Linked DNA regions of Homo sapiens: all the other regions are linked to region 4. Evidence: promoter capture Hi-C in 16 types of primary human blood cells and fetal thymus (Javierre and others, 2016). All regions are on one chromosome and are shown on one strand. The core of a region is centred on a gene start or on the middle of the fragment in contact, and the rest is flanking DNA. Distances in the headings are between cores, read along the strand shown.

Region 1 (3,251 bases), core at 218-2,717, 130 kb after region 4:
AGCCCCCGCACTCAGCCACTGATGGTTAATTTTCAAATGTATCTTCCTCCTCTGCTTTTCTGTGGGTGCCAACAAATAGAATGGTGGGTTTGTTTGTTATTCTTAACTCCTTTGGCTGGCTTTAAACATGTTCTCTTTTTAGCCTTATTTTTCTAAAAGCTTAGTGCAGAAATTTCTTGTTTGGCTTCCACTCTTCAGGGTGTGATAATTCCCAAGGTCTCTCTCTAGCTCCTCAGGAATGTACCCCCCTGATGGACTGAAATTTGTCCACTCCAGTGAAATTGTTTGGGGGAGAAGGGAGCAGAGTACACGTTCAAGATGTTTTCTCCCAGCATTTGTCTGTTGATGAGCTTTTGTAATTTCCATTTCACTGTCCTTGCCCCAGAGGATAACCTTGGATCTCAGTGTAGACTAGATTGAGTGTAAAATGAGTTAGCACAAATGAAGTGGAAACAGATCAGCGTGTGAGGAGGAGGCTCAGACGCTAAATCCTCTAGTTGGGTAAAGTTGAAAGCATTTTCCTCAGAGCCTCCCTGGGAATGCTTGTCCTATTTCTCAGAGAAATAAGCTACTGTGTGCATGTTGTTGCTGTTGATGCCTTTGACATTTGTGCTTAGCGAAGTGGAGGGTTCTGTGGGGGATACCAAAAAATTGCCCTAATCTCTGTCCTCAGGAATCTTATTGAGAAGGGGAGATGACCTGATTGCTAGACATCCATCTAGCTTCCCTCTGCTAGGCACGAGATGTACAAAGGTTTAAAAAGAGCCATGAATGCTAACTTCTTGGCTTACAGCTTAGCAGGGAACTCAGCCATGACTTGTAATACAGTGGGATCAGTACTACCATGGCAGCATCAACAAGAAACAAGTGCGATCTCATAGCCCTGCGCAAGTAGTGAACTACCAGCAAAGTCGGAGAGGCTTCATAGAGAAGGGGAGTTGAGCAGAGTTCTGAAAAGACTCCCCTCTGACTAGTGGGACAGGGCATTCGTGCAGGCAAGAACACCCTGTGCGAAGGCACTGAGGTGTGAAGCAGCCTGGTGTGTTGGTGAGTGCTCCACAAGAGCCATGTCAGACCTCAATTCAGTGCTATTTTGTGTGTTGCAGGCAGGAGGTTCAAAGGAGCCCGAGAGCAGGAAGGCTGACCAAGCCAGATTTGGAAATACTTGGCTGGGATGTTCCTGGTCAGTGGGCTATTTGGGCAAAGTGGTTAAAGTGGGACAAAGGCACAGGGAAGGAATCCATGGAGGGAAGGGGAGAAATGGCTCCTTTAGTATCTTGAATGAGGCTTTTGGATGTGAGTCCAGGTACAGTGCTATAGTTTAATTGCTTTTGCTTCTGTTTCTTTAAGGATACATTGCACTTAAACCCCAGTAATTATTCCAGATTTTGTTAGTGGATATATCCCCACCCCCCATCTGGCTCAAGCTAAGCAGTTGGCATAAGTAGGGGAACAGAAGGCTCAGAATTGTCCACTGGAAGTACTCGGCTTTTCTTTGGAGAGATCAGGTTTCTTCCATGGGAAAATGATGTCAACACACTTATCTTAGCACTTTGCCTCGAGGGCACCTGTGGGCTTGCGCCTAGAGCAAAGGAAAGGGGTTCCCTAAAACTTCCTTTCTGTTTTGGGAACATGGAGATGTGATAGAATATCCCTGATAAAAGCATCAGTTTATGGTGGAGGTGAGAGTTTATGACCAGGACCAGAAAGTTGCTAGAAAGGTTGCTAAGTGGAGAATTATGGTTGGTTATTTTCAGGAAGCAACTTAATGTTGTGGGAAGAAGCACTGGACTAGGATTTGGGAAATTTGAGGTCTAATCTTGATTTTACCTTAACTAATAAGATGATCTTGATCTTTCTGAGCCATGGTTTCCTAACAGGCAAATAAGGAGACTGGTTAGGAGACTCAAGAGAGCATATAGCAGGTGTGGTAAACCATGCAGCACTTTATAGTGTGAGGACTGTCTGAACCCTGTCACTTGGCGCCTCCATCCGGACACCACGTGTGCCCTCCTGCCCGCTGCGGGGGAGGACATGCCCCTGATGGGTCTGGGCTGCACTGGCCTCTGGGTGACTCATTGGCGTTTTGTAAACCACCTTATCTTTGAAGAAAATGTTTTCCACTACTAGTAAAATTTCTTTCTTTTCTGTCTTTATTTGTTTCTCTTTAAAGTTTTCTTAAACTGAGCTAACTTCAAAGAAGTATCTGGAATTCTCTTCTTCCTCCTTAACCACTTATAGCCCCCTTATCCCCAGTCATCATTGTAGTATATCTAATTGTTGGTGGATATAATGTGGGCCACTTTGGATTTGAGTAGTCAAAATCAGAGCCTGGCTAGTAATTGGGTTTGAAGGAGAGTTGAGCTGAAGTCATCTCATGAAACAAAAATGGCAAAAGACCATCCTATTAACACTGGACTTCCTTTGTCTTCCTTCATAAGATCCCTCAGGCTTTCCTTAGTATTAAGGAGCAGGGGGAGAAGACGGTGGCATATACTGCCCTTTAAATATGGCATTTCTGAACTTAGCTCTCCTTGTACTTTATCAAGTGAGTTGTCTTCCTCTCTCAACTAGATCCAAAGAAACATGGCAGCCTCTGCAGTCCCCGTGAAGTGCTGTGAGTGGGATGCCAGCAATAAAATCATGTCTTTCTATGGATTTTTGGTTGGTGTTCTAAGGCTTGCCGCTTCTCTTCCTAATAAGCCTGCACCGATTTTGTCCCTGAAGATTTGAGGCTGTGAAATATTCTTCCTTCTTCCTGCCTCCTCCAGTCTGGGAAGCTTCACTTATAGCCAGAGGGCTGAGTGAGGTACAGCTACTCCTACAATGAGGCAAGCCTTAGTGTTCTTGGCTTGCTTCACTGTGTTTCTGACACTGCCTTACCTTAACTCTTGAGTAAGCCCCGTTTCCTGGGCAGAATCTCACTTCTCCTTTCTTGCTGGTCATTTGGCTCTTTTTTTTCTGACAAGAGCTGGATCTTGCTTGTTTACCATCTACCCCAGCACCTTATTCTTTTTTCTTGGAAGTGCCAACATATTCCTCTACGTGCTGAACCTGTTCAGTAATTCTTGTTGGATTGTCATTCCTTTGGCAAACTGAAATGAAACACACAAATCTCAAAATAGATGTAACCAGACTCCTCAAACTTAATAAATACCGTATGTGCTTACACTAGGAATCTTGCTTGTCCCGTTTGTTAACGGGTACTTCACCCCACTCTCCTGCCTCCTGCTTCTTCCCTCGGCCCCTGT
Region 2 (3,635 bases), core at 774-3,273, 140 kb before region 4:
CTAAAGACAGATATAATCCAAATTGCACAACATAAGTTGACATTTAAAACATCACTTTAAGGCAATATATGCTATAGAGTAGTAAATTTTAGTTATCCTAACATTTACCTCTTTTTTTTTTTTTTGAGATGGAGTCTTGCTCTGTCACCCAGGCTGGAGTGCAGTGGCGCTATCTCAGCTCACTGCAACCTCCACCTCCCAAGTTCAAGCGATTCTCCTGCCTCAGCCTTTGGAGTAGCTGGAATTACAGGCACATGTCATCACGTCTGGCTAATTTTTGTATTTTTAGTAGAGACAGGGTTTCACCATATCAGCCAGTCTGGTCTCGAACTCCTGACCTCATGATCTGCCCACGTCAGCCTCCCAAAGTGCTGGGATTACAGGCGCGAGCCACCGTGCCCGGCCTAAAGCTTCTTTTAAAATGGCTTATATACTAAATATATACTAAATAGACAATTTTTTAATTTTTTGGTAGAGACAACATCTCACTATGTTGTCCAGGCTGGTCTGAAACTCCTGGGCTCCAGCAATCCTCCTGTCTTGACCTCCCAAAGTGTTGGGATTACAGGTGTGAGCCACTGCATCCAGCTAATTTCAAAGAATATTAAGATCAATGTATAGATGATATATACGTAATGAGTTGCTAGGAAAAAATAGAGGACAGTGTTTTTCAACAAAGCATCTCCATGGTCTGTGGTAGAGCCAAACCTGAGATGCTGAAAGCAGATGTCACATGGAATTAAGTACATTGCTGTATTCACCTAAATATCCTGTTTGCGAATCTTAATACACAACAAAATTACTCCATTAGGACTAACCTTCAGTCATAAGATTCCATATTCCATCTTCCTTATTCCACTTACTCAAAATGAGAACAACCATTGCTTTGTAAATTCATTAGCACCTTAGTAGAATCCAGGCCCATCCCTGGTTAGAGAAATGGCAAAATGAAACCCTAAGTGTAACAAATGAATGACTTTACCACACAAATACTCAACACATGTATTCCCTGTTCTGGCTTCAGTTAGAAAATAAAATGTTTGTGATTTTTGTGTTCATAAAGGGATCTGGAGGCTTAAAAAAAAAGAAAAATGGGCCCTGCACAATGGCTAATGCCTGTAATCCCAGCACTTTGGGAAGCCAAGATGGGAGGATCATTTGAGGCCAGGAGTTCGAGACCAGCCTAGCCAACATGGTGAAAACCCGTCTCTACTAAAAATATAAAAATTAGCCAGGTGGGATGGTATGTGCCTGTAGTCCCAGCTACTGGGGTGGCTGAAGCATAAGAATCACTTGAACCCAGGAGGTTGTAGTGAGCCAAGATCATGCCACTGCACTCAAGCAACGATGTCAGAGCAAGACTGTGTCTTGAAAACAAAACGGAACAAAACAAACAAACAAGACAAATGAAAAATATATCTCTGCTTTAGCTAGTTCCCAAATACCTTTTTTCAAAAGCCTTTTGACTACATCTAATCTAACTATAATACAAATCAGGCTGTGATATTGGGCCAGAGCTAAGAAAAGGATAGTTTTAAAGTACTCCACCATAATCTGTAGTTGACACTTTTTAGTTATGACGACATGAGGTGTTAATATCTGTTTCATAATAATCTGTCCAGTACCACTCATTTAGCCAAATCAAACAACATTGAGATGGCTTTTCAGGTTTTTTTATGCAAAGATTTGCATGACATGCAAGACAATGAAAACAAAGTGTTTAGATATTTTTCACAAATTATCTTAATGTTCTTAAGACATGCAAAGAGAGTGGAACACAGAAGAGGCTCTTCAGAGCATTTAACTTTTTTTTTTTTTTTGAGACAGGCTCTTGCTCTGTCACCAGGACTGGAGCGCAGTGACGCGATCATGGGTCACTGCAGCCTCAACCTCCTGGGCTCAAGCAGTCCTCCCACCTCAGCTTCCTGTGTGTCTGGGACTACTGGCATGTGCCACCATGGCTGGTCAATTAATTTTAAACTTTTTTTTGTGTGTGTGTGGAGATACGTTCTCACTGTGTTGCTCAGGCTGGTTTTGGAACTCCTAGGCTCAAGTGATCCTCCTGCCTTGGCCTCCCAAAGTCCTGGGATTACAGGTGTGTGCCCGGCCTGATTTTTTAAGCAACACAATCAAGTATAAATGATTTCGAATCACTGGAAACAATATGACTCAAAGGACTTTGAAGCTATAATTTTACAGACATGTATACAAGGTCTACAATAATCAGAGCCTTGTGTCTGTTTTACCCTTCCCACAACTCAAAGGAAAGTTGAGGAAAGATCTCAGGAGATGTGCAGGAGCCAGTAGAAATGTGATCTGAGGAACAAGTGCAGACTCTTGCTGAGAAGTAGAGGCAAGGGCAGCACCAAAGAAGCAAAAGTAGGCATCTGTCTAGTCCAGAGGGAAAGACTACAGAAAGAAGACTGGTCAACAAGTCAAGAGCAAGGAGACAAAGAGCAGGCTGGCAAACTAGTATGAGACAAGACAGGGCAAGAAACTAGAGGCTTTTTCCGGAGGGATGCTGCAGGTTTATACACCTGCAGAGAGTAAAGACAGACACTCTGGAAGATAAGAATAGCATCAAACAGTATAAAATGAGGTTGCTGATCTTAAGAAATGGACACTATAGTTGGAGAGACAGGGTTTACACCAATGGAAAGAGAAATAACACCGAACAATAATTCAAGTGGTGTTGCAAAACCTTGTATGATTAGTTAAATACCAAATTATTAGTCAGGGAAGGCTTCAAAGTAGAGAGGAGCTTTGAGTTCAGTCTTTGATGAATGAGAAGAGTTCAAAGAGGTAAAACAAATACGGGGATTAACAGAGTTAATAAAAGGAAGGGGTTCGAAATATATCTGGTATAAGATCAACTAAATGAAATAAAGCATGAAGACAAGATTAGAAAAAAAAGAATGAAAAGGAATGAACAAAGCCTCCAAGAAATATGGGACTATGTGAAAAGACCTAACCTCAGTGATGGGGAGAATGGAACCAAGTTGGAAAACACTCTTCAGGATATTATCCAGGAGAACTTCCCCAACTTAGCAAGACAGACCAACATTCAAATTCAGGAAATACAGAGAACACCACAAAGATACTCCTCGAGAAGAGCAACCCCAAGACACACAATCGTCAGATTCACCAAGGTTGAAATGGAGGAAAAAATGTTAAGGGCAGCCAGAGAGAAAGGTCAGGTTACCCACAAAGGGAAGCCTGTCAAACTAACAGTGGATCTCTTAGCAGAAACCCTGCAAGCCAGAAGATAGTGGGGGCCAATATTCAACCTTCTTTTTTTTTTTTGAGGCGGAGGCTCACCCTGTCACCCAGGCTGTAGTACAGTGGCGTGATCTCAGCTCACTGAACCTCCACCTCCTGGGTTCAAGCGATTCTTCTGCCTCAGCCTCCCGAGTAGCTGGGACTACAGGCACGCAACACCCTGCCTGGCTAATTTTTCTATTTTTAGTAGAGACGGGGTTTCACCATATTGGCCAGACTGGTCTCGAGCTCCTGACTTCGTGATCCACCTGCCTCAGCCTCCCAAAGTACTGGGATTACAGGTGTGAGCCACCACGCTCAGCCTCAACATTCTTAAAGAAAAGAATTTTCAACCCAGAATTTCATATCCAGCCAGA
Region 3 (3,602 bases), core at 239-2,738, 150 kb after region 4:
ACCTCATCTCTATAAAAAACTTAAAAAATTAGCCGAGCATGGTGGGTAGTCCCAGCTACTCAGGAGGCTGAGATGGGAGGATCACTTGAACCCAGGAGTTTGAGATTACAGTGAGCCATGATGGTGCCCCTGCACTCCAGCCTGGGTGACAGAGTGAGACCCTGTCTCTAAAACATAAAATGAAAAGAGAGCTATCAATGGCTTTAGGATTTGGGCTGTAAACAGTGATACAGAAGAGATGAACTTTGCGAAAGAATAAAAGATGCTCTTAGGGATTGGGGAGTGTCTGGTGCATTAATGGTTCCTGTCTTGGGAAAAAGCTGTGTGTAGCAATGTTCTTGGGTGTTCACAGTAGCTCTTGTATATGAGACGTGGTCATTTTCAAGGTTGTTCACCAGTGGTAGAAGAATAGATGGCATTTGATGCTTGTTATTTTATACTTTTAACTTTTAAAATTATTCTGTAATTTAAAAATATTCTGGGGCTGGGCATGGTGGCTCCCAGCACTTTGGGAGTCCAAGGTGGGAGGATTGCATGAGCTTAGAAGTTTGAGATCATTCTGGGCAACACAGTGAGACCTGATGTCTACAAAATAATGTTAAAAATTAGCCATGCATGGCCGGGCACGGTGGCTCACGCCTGTAATCCCAGCACTTTGGGAGGCCAAGGCGGGCAGATCACGAGGTCAAGAGATCAAGACCATCCTGGCCAACATGATGAAACCCCGTCTCTACTAAAAATACAAAAATTAGCCAGGCATGGTGGTGTGCACCTGTAGTCCCAGCTACTTGGAAGGCTGAGGCAGGAGAATCGCTTGAACCTGGTGGTGCACACCTGTGGTCCCAGCTACTCGGGAGGCTGAAGTGGGAGGATCGCTTGAGCCCAGGAGGTTGAGCCGTGATTGTGCCACTGCACTCCAGCCTGGGGGACAGAGTAAGACTCTCTGCCTGTCATAGATAGATAGATAGATATAGTTTTCAACCTCTAACTGGTTTTGTGTGTGTGTGTGTTGACAATTTATCTGATGGTTCTTTGAAAACTGAAAATGTGTCCTTCATTCCAACATTATACATTTAAAAAATCGAATGTTTTAACATAAATATGGGAGGAGTACTCCATGAAGGTGAAAGCCAGTGATTCTCCTTGAAGAAGGGTATTGTTCTGTGCTAGCGGCATCTCCATTTCGCCTAGCAATTGTAGCAGAATAGAGACTGCATCCCCTCTCATTCTACAGGTAAAGAATAGTTTGAAGAGAAAGCTTAGTGATTTCACTGCCAAAAGAAAGCTTTTAACAAAATTGCTTATTAAACCACACCTCAGGCTGTGCAGGGACATGGGAGGAGCGTGCAATTTCTGAAAAAGAATATTTAGAGGAGGATTTTATTGTATAATTGGCAAACTTCTCATCTCCGAGAATAATTGCTTGATTTCATGGAAAGGACCAGAACTTGGGTATCTTGAGGCCTAAGATAAATAGATAGCAACGGATCATGCTAGTCCCCATGGTTACTGGGAACTGAGCTCAAGTGGATTGTTATCCTGAACAAGTCTGTGTCAGGATATTCTTGTCACCTTTCAGCTCTTTGGTATTTGCTCTCTTTCTTGAATCAGCAAAAGAAATCGCTGTAAAGTTAATGTAATTTACGGGAAGTTCCCGTGCCACACTGCATGCTTTTGTGTGTCACAAGACTTAAGCTTCCTGCTACCCTCTGTTAAAGGAGAACTTTTTATGTTCCTAACAATATACGATTCTTTCAGGAGCTATTTACATAGCTGGGTTGGTTAATAGACAACTGGGGACTGGGCTATAAGCATTTTGACCTGGAAATATTTCTTTGGGGTTATGTGAACTACTGTACAATAAAACCTCAATTAACTAGGATTACTTGGAGAAAAGACAGTTTCTGGTTGAATTTTCTTTTAAATGGAAGGTTAAACACTTTCCTTTTCTCAACCCTTCTTATTCACTTTCTTCCTTTGGCTTTTGGAATTCAGATGTTAAGATCTTGAAAATAAGTTAATGTTTCATTGAGTTAGTCCGTAACAGTGCTTTGGAACATCCTTGAGTTATGAAGCTTGTTATTCAGGCTTTACTTTCTTCAGAGGATTAAGAGGCTTGAACGTGGCTGCTAAGTTCTCTAAGTTGTTTTCTGGGGGGAAGAATAAATTTTTCTGTGTAATTTTGTTTTCTTGTATCTTTATCAGATTCAGAATAAAAAAGCTATCGTAACATGCCCTGCATCAGTAGGCCTTGTTAGTTACGTAATCCTACTATTTGAGGGTTTAGGAATATTCTAGCAAAATATAACAGAAATGAGCCGTTAGTAAATTGCTTAACTTAAAATATTTAGTTTTCTTCTGTGTGTGTTAAAGTCAAGTTATATTAATTTAATAGGCAGTTGGGTTGGCTCTTTTGCATAATCCAGACAATATATGGATCCCACAAATATTTATTGAGTATATACTCTGTGTTCTTCATATACCATGTTAGGCAGTTTTGTAATATCAGTAATGAGACCAGCATAAGTGTATTAACCTCTGATAACCTTCACATAAATCTTATATTCTACAGCAATGAAAACTTGTCCCTAAGGGACTTTGTGGTCACAGCAGTTCTGATTTCCTTGTTTGAAATTTTTGTAAACTTTCCAACTTCTTTGTTTTGCACTCAGTACTTAAAAATAAATTTAATGCCAGAAGTAAAAGTACTATTATTTTCATCAATCATAAGTTATAGATAACAAAAACTCAGAAATTTTTCTTGAACATAGGTAGGGAACTTAGGTGAAAGGACTGCTTTAATTCCATCTAAAAGATAAAACCTAATACTGACTTACAAATATGTTGCTAAGAGTTTAGTGTCTCCAAGTAAAGGTAGAAATTTTACATTATCTATCAATGATATCGGCGAAAACTAAAATTATTAGGAAGTAAGCTAAGAATAATTTATAGTCTAGATTTTTAACTTAAAAGTGGAACCAATTTCCAATGGTTTCTTCCCTTAGTTCTTGAGTTAGCCATACTGTGACCATTAAAAAACATCTTTAAAATGTATGTGAAAAAACCTGAAGAAAATGTGGCAAAGGGTAAGATTTGATAAGAAATGGGTCTAGGTTTATAGGGAATGCATTATAGTCTTTATAGTTATGTGTGTTTGAAATATAATAAAACACTTTTAGATGAATTCTTTCTTTTTTTTTTTTTTCCTTTTTGAGACACAGTCTCACTCTGTTGCCCAGGCTGGAGTGCAGTGGTGTGATCTTGGCTCACTGCAACCTCCATCTCCTGGGTTCAAGTGATGCATGTGCCTCAGCCTCTGGAGTAGCTGGGATTACAGGCGCACACCACCACACCAGCTAATTTTTGTATTTTTAGTAGGAGACGGGGTTTCACCATGGCTGGTGTTGAACTCCTGACCTCAAGTGATACGCCCACCTCGGCCTCTCAAAGTGCTGGGATTACAGGTGTGAGCCACAACGCCTGGCTAGATGAATTATTTCCTTTAGAAATTATTTTCTGTGTATCTGCAAAAGTGTTTCATTTTAGTACTGTGAAATGAATAGGCCCTATGCTGGGTCCTGTTGGGGTTTGTGATTTATAGA
Region 4 (3,477 bases), core at 298-2,797:
ATTTTCATTAGTTTGGAGTGTGTGTGTATCTAAACCGCCCTGCTTTTCTCTCAGATCAGTAACACATTTGCTATTAACTTTGATACAACACTGCTTTAGAAATACAGGTTACAGTTATTCAGAATTTTAAGTTGAATTTATTTATACTGTCTCCATTCTTTAAAGACTAGAAGTGGTTTAATAGAACATACATGATGTATTTGTGTGTATTTGTGTCATATGCTTTTGGAAAAAGTCACTTGTCAATTCCACAAATAGTTCTTGGGCGTCTACTATGTTTAAAGTATCTTGAAGTTTATAAAGATGAATGAAATGTCCTTGATTGAATCTTGGTGTACTACCTTGTCCAGAAACACTTGCTATTTACTAAAAGGATAACAACCTTACCTGCATATCAAAATCACCTGGGGAGCTTGTTGAAAATACACCGGCCCAGGCTTCGGCTCTCAGCTTAGGGAGATTCTGATAATACGCAGAGCCCAAGGTGTGTGTAGTTTTAACAAAAAGCTTCCCAAGCGAATCTGATACACATCTAGGATTAAGAAACACTGCTTTAAACTAAGAAAGGACTAACTGCAGAAGTTCAGCCACAAGTCAACCAGATGTATGCCCTTAACATTCACATGAGCAGTTGGCTAAAGTCTCTTATAAGGCTATTTCTATTTCCGAGGTTTCAGAACGGGTAGTTATAGTCTGAAATACACCCCAGAGGACAGAGTCAGGTCCAATCTTTTCTGTAAGACACCTTGCTCAAGACTGCTGTGAAGGAATAAGAGAGCTGCAGCCAAAGATCATCCCAAAGTCTCCCAGAACACTCTATCATTATATCCATCTCACATGAAATATGGGTGTGTACATTTTTTCCTTCACTAGATTGGCAAGTATTCCAGCGCAGGGCAAATCTCTTTTTTCTCCCACCAAGGAACACAATATCCCATACATAATAGGTGTTTGACAGGTTTTTTTTTTAAATTGAATTGAATCCTTACCTAGCTCCTAGGGTCTGACTATATATACCCATAAATTATACATCTGTTTATAAAACATTTCAATCACACCAAAGAACATATATATGGAAGAAAGAACGATAAACAAGCACCCATGGACCCACCCCCCCGTTTATGAAACAGAACTTTGCCAGTGCTTTCGAAGTTCCTTACTGAACTAGATCTTTTAAAAACAGCAACGATTTTCTGAATTTTAATCAGAAGGCATGCATTCCTTCATTCATTGATTCGATTCCGTCATGGTCAGACCCGCCTACCAAGTGTCAACATGATATACACGATGTAAGTATTCCACTGTTGGGGTGAGGAGGGTCAAAAGTGACAATATGCTATCTCCAGAGACTACGGATCGCCTTTGCTGCAAATGGTCCCAACCCGGCCTGGCGCTCTAGAGCAGGCGTGGTTTCTGCGCGCGGACACTTTGGAGAGAAACTACGCGTCCCGGCAGTCCGCGGGGCGAGTGGGCGGAGCCGGGCCGGGGGCGGGGGCCGGGCGCCGGGCGAGAGGTGGCATTGTGTAGGGGAGCGCGGAGCTGCATTTGTCTGCTCCAGGTGCTAGCCAGGCAGGCGCAGCCGTGGCCGGCTAGGGCTGGAAGTGTCAGCGGCGGCCGCGGGCCCGGCAGAAGGCCGAGTAGGAGGGACCACGCGCCGGGGGCCGCGATCTCTGGCAGGGGGCGGTGTGCCAGCGGAGCACCATGCACATAGGCGCCCAGCGCCCCAACTACCCCTCCCGAGGAAAAGAGGCCGGGGCCGCGCTGGGGCGGCGGAGAGCATGAGGGAGGCCGGGGGGCGGCTCGGCTTGGAGCGCTGCTAGGGAGCGGTGCGCGCCGCACACCCGCCTGGGCGCGGCGGAGGGCGGGGAGCCGGGCAGGTCGCGCCTGCGGGCGGCAGCCGACCGCCGGGAGCTGTTCTGATTTCCGACGCGCACGCTAGGGGCCCGGAGCAGCCCCCGGCCCCGGCGCGCCGCCGACATGGGCAACGCAGGGAGCATGGATTCGCAGCAGACCGATTTCAGGGCGCACAACGTGCCTTTGAAGCTGCCGATGCCAGAGCCAGGTGAACTGGAGGAGCGATTTGCCATCGTGCTGGTAAGTGCGCGGCGGCGGTCGGGCGCGGGGACCCGGGGCCCCGGGCCGGGCGGCGCAGCTGACCCCCGCCCCTCCCCTTCACCCCGTGCCGGGAGCGAGCCTCCATTCCCGAGGGGGAGGCTCCCGCTTTCCCCTTTGTGGCCCCCCAGCACTCCTCTTCACCCCCCTGGCAGTCCCCCGCGCTCAGTCTCTCGGGGTCCCGGGATGGGGATGGGGGCTCAGGGCCGGCTGCCCAACCAGCCTCGAACCCATTGTCTGGCTGGAGAGGCACCTCACGGCGCGTGTGCCCGGGAGGTGCGGCGTGGGCGTGAAGAGAAGGTGGCGCGGGCTGGGAGGAGGAGGTGGCGAGCCGCTTAGGCTTTTTTTTTAAAAAAAACAAAACAAAACAAAACAAAACAAAACACCCTGAGCCCCTGCGGACCATCCCTCGGGCGGCCAGCCCGGGACCTGCGAAGTCCCCGGCAGATGGGGCGCATGTGGCCGGCCGCGGGCGCCGCGCCGGGCGGTGAGCGGAGGCGAACTTGGAGGGCTCACGTCGCGGCTTGGCCAAGGGGAGCTTCCCCGAAAGGGAAAGCGGAGACCCACAGCAGTGCGGCGCCCCGGCCCTTGGCGAGGAGCAGGGGCATCTGAAACCCAGGCCGGGGAGAACCTCAGCGCGTTCCCTCTAGACTTAAATCTTAAACCACAAAAATGTGGAGTTTTGCGGGGACGTGTTGCGAGCTGTCCTGACTGCACGGGCGACCCCTCCCCTCCTCTTGCACGCCCAGCCAGGTCCCCCGCTCCCTCCTGCATTCCGCTTCTCCCAGCTTTCCAGCTCCTCAAATCCAGGACTCTGAAAACTCCCCTCTTTCTCCCTTTCCTGCTGGGACAGTGTCTGGGCCCCTCCCAGCCGAGGCTTGTGCTGTGAGCTGCAGAGGGTGTGGCGGCTTGCCCCAGCCAGGATCTGGACTGCTGTTGGTCCCCCAGACTACCAGTTTTAGTGTCCCAGCCTCTTCTAAGGGATGTTGGGAGGGACACACACAGGCGAGATTGGGCTCATTCCTACTCCTGACACTTGGACACTTCTCTTTTCCTAGTTGGTTACCTCTAAACTCCACAAGACTAGGCAGCAAGGGAAACTCGTGATCCGGGCAGCCAACGATTGTGCCTGCCTGCGGGTTTTCTTTTCTTCTTTTGTTTTCATGAAAACTTAGAACTTTGGCAGAGGACTCGAGTTCTAGATCAAAAATCGGTTTTCTGAGGTGTGCTCAGCTACAGGACGTTCAAATTGCCTGCCTTCAGGCCTTGAAAAAGGAATGGTTTGGTATGGGAAGTGATGTTCTGGATGGCAGGTTAGCTGTGTGCTCTTTGGGAGAACTGAGCTCTCTCTCCCGCCACCTGGAA

What was found. Contacts are between HindIII fragments. The CHiCAGO score rates a contact against its expected background, and 5 or more counts as called.
Region 1: a fragment that was not itself captured here is called in contact with the fragment with the promoter of FMNL2 in region 4 in 5 of 17 cell types (M2 macrophages, M0 macrophages, M1 macrophages and 2 more); the score reaches 11.3 in M2 macrophages.
Region 2: a contact is called between a fragment that was not itself captured here and the fragment with the promoter of FMNL2 in region 4, in 4 of 17 cell types (M1 macrophages, endothelial precursors, M0 macrophages and 1 more). The highest score is 17.7, in M1 macrophages.
Region 3: a fragment that was not itself captured here is called in contact with the fragment with the promoter of FMNL2 in region 4 in 5 of 17 cell types (M2 macrophages, M0 macrophages, endothelial precursors and 2 more); the score reaches 8.9 in M2 macrophages.

Annotation. Positions count from the first base shown.
Region 1 is chr2:152,464,227-152,467,477 of GRCh38, forward strand. All of the region lies in intron 1 of FMNL2 (formin like 2), which reads left to right. Among named protein-coding and RNA genes, the nearest start is that of FMNL2, 130 kb to the left of the region's middle. The HindIII fragment of the contact is 2,621 bases long and covers 158-2,778 here.
Region 2 is chr2:152,190,542-152,194,176 of GRCh38, forward strand. LOC105373689 (a long non-coding RNA gene) reads left to right here. Exons shown (of 3, transcript XR_923477.3): 3 at 129-146. Among named protein-coding and RNA genes, the nearest start is that of STAM2, 17 kb to the left of the region's middle. The HindIII fragment of the contact is 3,230 bases long and covers 409-3,635 here.
Region 3 is chr2:152,484,594-152,488,195 of GRCh38, forward strand. All of the region lies in intron 1 of FMNL2 (formin like 2), which reads left to right. Among named protein-coding and RNA genes, the nearest start is that of FMNL2, 150 kb to the left of the region's middle. The HindIII fragment of the contact is 410 bases long and covers 1,284-1,693 here.
Region 4 is chr2:152,333,627-152,337,103 of GRCh38, forward strand. FMNL2 (formin like 2) reads left to right here and starts at 1,548. Exons shown (of 26, transcript NM_052905.4): 1 at 1,548-2,094. The coding sequence starts at 1,978. RefSeq lists silencers at 1,348-1,997, 2,508-2,607. The HindIII fragment of the contact is 3,556 bases long and covers 506-3,477 here.